Regions from separate parts of the Homo sapiens genome. Here region 1 is linked to region 2. Evidence: promoter capture Hi-C in 16 types of primary human blood cells and fetal thymus (Javierre and others, 2016). All regions are on one chromosome and are shown on one strand. Each heading gives the region's core, a stretch centred on a gene start or on the middle of the fragment in contact. The rest is flanking DNA. Distances are from core to core; before and after follow the strand shown. Region 1 has its middle 33 kb from the start of GSAP. Region 2 holds the start of GSAP (gamma-secretase activating protein).

What was found. Contacts are between HindIII fragments. The CHiCAGO score rates a contact against its expected background, and 5 or more counts as called.
Region 1: a contact is called between a fragment that was not itself captured here and the fragment with the promoter of GSAP in region 2, in 2 of 17 cell types (monocytes and M1 macrophages). The highest score is 7.9, in monocytes.

What each region holds. Positions count from the first base shown.
Region 1 is chr7:77,447,780-77,450,939 of GRCh38, reverse strand. No RefSeq gene overlaps it. Among named protein-coding and RNA genes, the nearest start is that of GSAP, 33 kb to the right of the region's middle. The HindIII fragment of the contact is 2,796 bases long and covers 230-3,025 here.
Region 2 is chr7:77,414,976-77,417,885 of GRCh38, reverse strand. It overlaps GSAP (gamma-secretase activating protein), which reads left to right and starts at 1,537. Exons shown (of 31, transcript NM_017439.4): 1 at 1,537-1,673. The coding sequence starts at 1,565. LOC101927243 (a long non-coding RNA gene) reads right to left here and starts at 2,688. Exons shown (of 5, transcript NR_110073.1): 1 at 2,538-2,688. RefSeq lists silencers at 1,242-1,591, 1,812-2,021, 2,082-2,371. The HindIII fragment of the contact is 1,753 bases long and covers 336-2,088 here.

The sequences.
Region 1 (3,160 bases), core at 378-2,877, 33 kb before region 2:
TTACAGGCTTGAGCCACCGCGCCCAGCCCTTCTTGTCTTGATTCTATGCTTTCTTTTGGCCTTCGTTATTCATGTGATTCAAGGCTTGCTTTGAACTCCTGGATGTGTGTGCTCCATAACTCATGAAAGCTCTTTTGACTTCTAACTATTGGCTCTGTCTTGACCACTGGTTTCCAGGCAATGTCAGTGTCTCTGGGTTTGCTGCAGTCCTGTAGCTGTTCACAAAGCTTCATTGTTTTGGTCTCTATCATGGCATCTGATCCCATGTCTATGATCAGTAGCTAGCTAGGGTGATAAAATAACTGTTTTGTGGGTTCCTGAAGCATTAGATCTTAGCAGAATACATACGCTTATTTCCTTCTTCTGAAACAATATTTAAAAGCACTGTAAAATGTTTGAAATAAAATTTGCCCTGTTTTTATAATTTTTTATTGATGATGCTATGAGTATTTATTTTACTTTTTAAGCTGCATTTGTTTGTATGTTTGTTCTTTTGGAAAGAGGACTCTCTGGCTATTGGTGCTTTGAATGGAGGGAGGTACAAAATCATATTATATTGTTGGCTAAGGGATGAGATAAATTGAGATGTGTATTTGTTTCTCAAATTGTTTTATTCTTGGTCTAACTAAATCAGTGATGTGACACTTCAGAAAGGAATTCGGAGCACTTACTGGTGACTTATATTCTGAAGGACTGTGACTTCTACAGTGAAAAATATTTCAAAATTGGCATTCATTCAGGACTGAATCTTAGCTTTGATATAGTATCTGATATAGCCCCAATGTCTAGGAGGTAATTTTTATTACAAAAAAATACTTTATTTTGGAAAAAATAGAAATTTTAAGAATATTTAACATAATCTGAATGCATATTGAGTTTACAAAGGAACCAACTTGATTAAAAAATATTTGACTATTAAATGTGTAAGAATGTGAGCCTGTATCTATTATATGAGTTTTTATTCAATAAAAATCATCTGTGTCTATTGTATACATATGTATACAAATATAAAATTTCAGGGAAACATACACGCATACACAAATATATTTATTTATTTATTCTTAGGTATGTTGGCCCAGGATTCTACTGGATATAATTTTTGCATTATTACCTTAATCAAATCATACCTGTTAATTCATAAATGTTAACCTTAGAAGTGAAAGGTTGATAATGAAAATCTTTCAAAAGTGTACGATTTTGGCCAGGCACAGTGGCTCATGCCTGTAATCCTAGCACTTTAGGAGGCCGAGGTGGATAGATCACAAGGTCAGGAGATCGAGACCATCCTGGCTAACATGGTTAAACCCCATCTCTACTAAAAATACAAAAAATTAACCAGGCGTGGTGGCCTGAAGTCCATGCGCCTGTAGTCCCAGCTACTTGGGAGGCTGAGGTGGGAGGATGGGGTGAACCCGGGAGGTGGAAGTTGCAGTAAGCCAAAATCGTGCCACTGCACTCTAGCCTGGGTGACAGAGCGAGACTCCGTTTCAAAAAAAAAAAAAGTGTAGTATTTTGATTATTTATTGACTTATTCCGATATTTCAAAGTATTAACAGCTGTAAAAAAATGTGTAAGTTGTTTGTAACAACTCTTAAGGCAGTTGTAGAAGAAATGCTACTAAAACATGAGGTAAAATTACACAGATCACTAGACCCGAGAAAATGCAATGATATAGACAAACAATAGTCAAGAAAGAAAAGGAAGAATAATTGGAAATGAGAAGAAAAGTGAAACATCAAAGGATTAATCTAGCCGAAGCCCTGGAGAGATCACTGACCATCAGTCAATAAGAGTATGACATAGGAAGGCCGGGTGCAGCAGTCACACCTGTAAATCCCAGTATCTTGGGAGGTCAAGGTGGGCAGATTACCTGAGGTCAGGAGTTCAAGACCAGCCTGGCCAACATGGTAAAACCCTGTCTCCACTAAAAATACAAAAATTAGCCAGGTGTGGTGGTGCATGCCTGTACTCCCAGCTAGTCAGGAGGCTGAGGCAGGAGAATCGCTTCAACCCGGGAGGCAGAGGCTGCAGTGAGCTGAGCTGGTGCCACTGCACTCCAGCCTGAGTGACAGAGTGAGACTCCATCTCAAAAAAAAAAAAAAAAAAAAAAAGTATAACATAGAAAAAGGATGTTATAATTGTAAGCACTGCAATGACTTCATATATTAGTCTCACATCACTTATGCCTCTCATTCCATTTGATCTGACTGAGATATAGATTAGACTGTTGTATCAAATGGGGCCAACATACAATGACAAACAAGTAAAAGTCCAAGGTCTGTAAGGTGGCTTGGCAGTGTCTAGACCCAAGGCTGCTTCTAACTTGTGGTGTTACCATTTGGAAGGTGTTGTCTTCATCATCCACACTACTGAAGATGGCTCACTGCCATGTCAACTGGGTTTGTCAGAGGCATTTGAACCGGAGCAACTCCATCTTGAGTAGGAACTGGGTAAAATAAGGCTGAAACCTACTGGGCTGCATTTCTAGATGGTCAGGCATTCTAAGTCATAGGATGAGATAGGAGGTTGGCACAAGATTCAGGTCATAAAGACCTTTCTGATAAAACAGGTTGCAGTAAAGAAGCCGGCTAAAACCCACCAAAACCAAGATGGCCATGAGAGTGATCTCTGGTTGTCCTCACTGCTACACTCCCACCAGCACCATGACAGTTTACAAATGCCATGGCAACATCAGGAAGTTACCCTATATGGTCTGAAAAGGGGAGGCATGAATAATCCACCCCTTGTTTAGCATATAATCAAGAAATAACCATAAAAATGGACAACCAGCAGCCCTGAGGAATGGCCATTCTTTTATTCCTTTACTTTCTGAATAAACTCGCTTTCCCTTTACTCTATGGACTTGCCCTGAATTATTTCTTGCGCAAGATCCAAGAACCCTCTCTTGGGGTCTGGATTCGGACCCTTTTCCTGTAACACGTTCACATTGCAGTCTGTGAGAAAGAGAAGAGGGAATCAGAAGGCCTTATGAAACCTGACACAGGGAATGAAAGGGAAAGAAGCTTGACCAGCTGTCCAATGTTTTAAGAGTCATTAGATTTTGGGACTGAAACAGGCTCCTAAGGAATGCTGTGTCTTTCTAGGAAAAAAATAATCAGTCTCTGAGATGCCCTCACCCATCCTGTTTCTGTCCCTAAGA
Region 2 (2,910 bases), core at 288-2,787:
CTAGGTGACAGAATAAAACTTGTGTGTTTAATTTACTGTTAATCTGAGTTCTTATTAACTTCTGGAGAATCTAATCCTAACTGATACACATGCCTTCATATAGCACCCTCATGATTTTGGCCACATCTTTCTATCATTATCTTATTGTTTCTCACCTTCTTTACATTGGCTTTTTCACTTAATTTGAAGAGAATTTTTTATATCATCACTGCTTGACTATAAAATCAGTCCTGCCTGGCAAAAATAGAAGTTAACTGCAAAAATAAAAACAATGGAAATGTACTGACTTTAAAAAATTGGCCAACAGTGTTTCTGTATGACAAAGGCAACAAGCTTATTTGATATGAAATAGTTGCATTAGCTCCTTGGGGGCTCCAGTGGCCTTCCTTTTATTCACTGATAATATTAGCAGCTTCATTAGGCATTTATCTTAAATTTGCATGCACTTCCCGGGTGGGAGGACTTTCCTCTGTATATGGTGGTGAGTAATGGAGTTCTACCTGAAATCATCCATTACCTCAGTTGGAGAAACATGTCTCTAGGAGGGAAAAAAATTCAAGACTTTCTTTTACATTTGGTTGGAGTAGTTTTCAAACTTAGTAAGCCTAAGAATCACCCGAGGCTCTGGGTAAAATGCACGTTTCTGGTCTTGTCCAGGTGTAGAGATCAGGAGTCTGCATTGTAAAATAGTGCCCCAGATGACGTCAATACAAGTAGTTTTCAGACCTTAATTTCGGAAGCATGTGAAAAAGCATTCTTTATTACTGTATTCACTCATTCTTCAGTAATTGTCGAGCACCTTCCAGAGTGCTCTGTTAGACCCTGGTGGGAGGCAGAGGGTTTGCGTGGAGACTTAAGATTCAGTTTTCATGTCTCAAGGCATCAAATGAGATGTACTAGAGTTAAAAGGCAAAAAGGACGCTGTTTGTATCAAGCGCATTAACCCCTTTTAGCGTTTCTCTTACAATGGGATCACCTTCGTCATACGCTCCCAGTTGCTACTCATTACCTTAATAACACTAATAAAGCACCACCACCTCGAAGCTGGGGCGAATAGGCCCAAGAGACGGCCTACTTCTGTGGTGACCCTGAACTGCTCCAGAGGACCCAGCTCTCTCAAGCCAAGTGGTTTCCACACTTTGCTGCACAGTGGAGGCACTTGTAGAATAAAGAAAATAGGCCGACCCTCCAGGTTTGGAAGCCACTGGGCTAGCGGCCTCGCCAAGGCCCTGAAGCGCCCACGTCTTTGCGCCCTCTATCCTCAGCCCCGAAGGTGCGCGCGGAGGCCTCCCGCCCCGGCGGGCCTGGTCCTGGCGCCTGGTCCACCCCGCCCCACCGCTACCCGCCGTGCCCGGCTCCGGCTCCGGCTCAGGTGCGGGCCGCCGGCCGGGAGGAGCTGGTGCCGGAGCTTCTCAGGCCAGGGCGCTGCAGAACCGAAAGCAGCAGGGGGCGGGGGAGAGGAAAGAGGGGGCGGGAGCGGGGACGCGAGGGCGAGGCGGCCACGCGGGGCCGGGAATGCCCGCGGTGCGGGGCCCCAGAGCCGCCCGGTGGTCGTGTCCGGGCGATGGCTCTTCGCCTGGTCGCCGACTTCGACCTCGGGAAGGACGTGCTCCCGTGGTTGCGGGCGCAGCGGGCAGTGTCGGAGGCCAGCGGGGCCGGAAGCGGCGGCGCAGGTGCGGGAGGCGCGCTGCGGAGAGGGGTGGGGGCGGGGAGTGGGAGTCCCTCATACCCCCCGGACTCCGACCCGGTGGGGAGCAACCCGGGGCGTCGCCGCCCTGAGAAGGCTGGTGCGAGGGCGTCGCTCCCCTCCTCAGAGGGCTGTTTTGGCTTTGCCACCCACACCCAGCCACGGCGGAAGGTCTGGGGGCAGAGCCCGGGCCAGGTCGCCGTGGGGCCTGAGGCGCCTGGCTCGCTGCCGGCCCGCGGAAATTCGCCCTTGGCAGAGGGGCCGGGCCGCTGGCGGTTCCCTCAGCATCACCTCACGGCGAGGGCAGAGGGTCGTGCTCAGCTCAGCGGCCGCATCCCACCTCCCGGGGGGTTCATCGGCAGCGCAGGGGCTTTGCCAAGACAGGAGTGCTCCTGGAAGCTTCACGTTTTGAGAAAGAATCCGTGACCACCAAGCAAACCACCCTATACCTAACGGTGGAACAGTTTGTCCCCACATTTGCGAGACGTGTTTATGTGTCTGTTGAACCGTGTCCGTGGCTCAGGGGACATGGGCCTCGGCGGTGAGGCGCAAGAGGGCAGGGGCCGCCTCCAGGCTGCGCGCGGCGGGGCGAGAGCCCCCAGCCGCCCCCGAGCTCCGCACCTGTGCAGGCTGGGGCTGCGCGCGAGATGCTCGGCTCCCGGCCCTGCCACTCCGGGCTTTTTGATGATTTGGTAAGGGAGTGAAAGTGACTTTTGAGCCTTCCCAGCACTGATCTGTTTTAAAGAAGGGGAACTTTGTGATTTCTTACAAAGTTTTAAAAGTCTTCTATAAATATTGGAGCTTCAGAGCTTAAATGCAGCTTCAAAGCAATGATGCCTGTAGGTCTCACCTTGTGTGTAGGGCGCTGTCCACTTCAGTGAATTTGGAAGTGGGTATTAAATGACCCACATCTACAACTCCTTTCCCTTAAACGCTGGTGAAAGTTTTCTTGATGTGAGTTATATATCAAGTTGCTATCTTGTATCTTCACACTCTCCTATGACTATAGCGAAATTATTTGTAGGTTTCCTTGGCTTGGAATATTATTAGCTCCAAATAAGGAGTTATATGTTTGTGTAGCGTATGCATTGAGTTTGCATTAGTGTCATGCTTAGTAAGGCTTTACTTTTTTTCGAGGTGGAGAGGGTGGTCAAGGAAGAATTTTATACAAAAATTAGCTGGGCGTGGTGACACGCTCCTGTAATCCCAGCTACTCGGGAGGC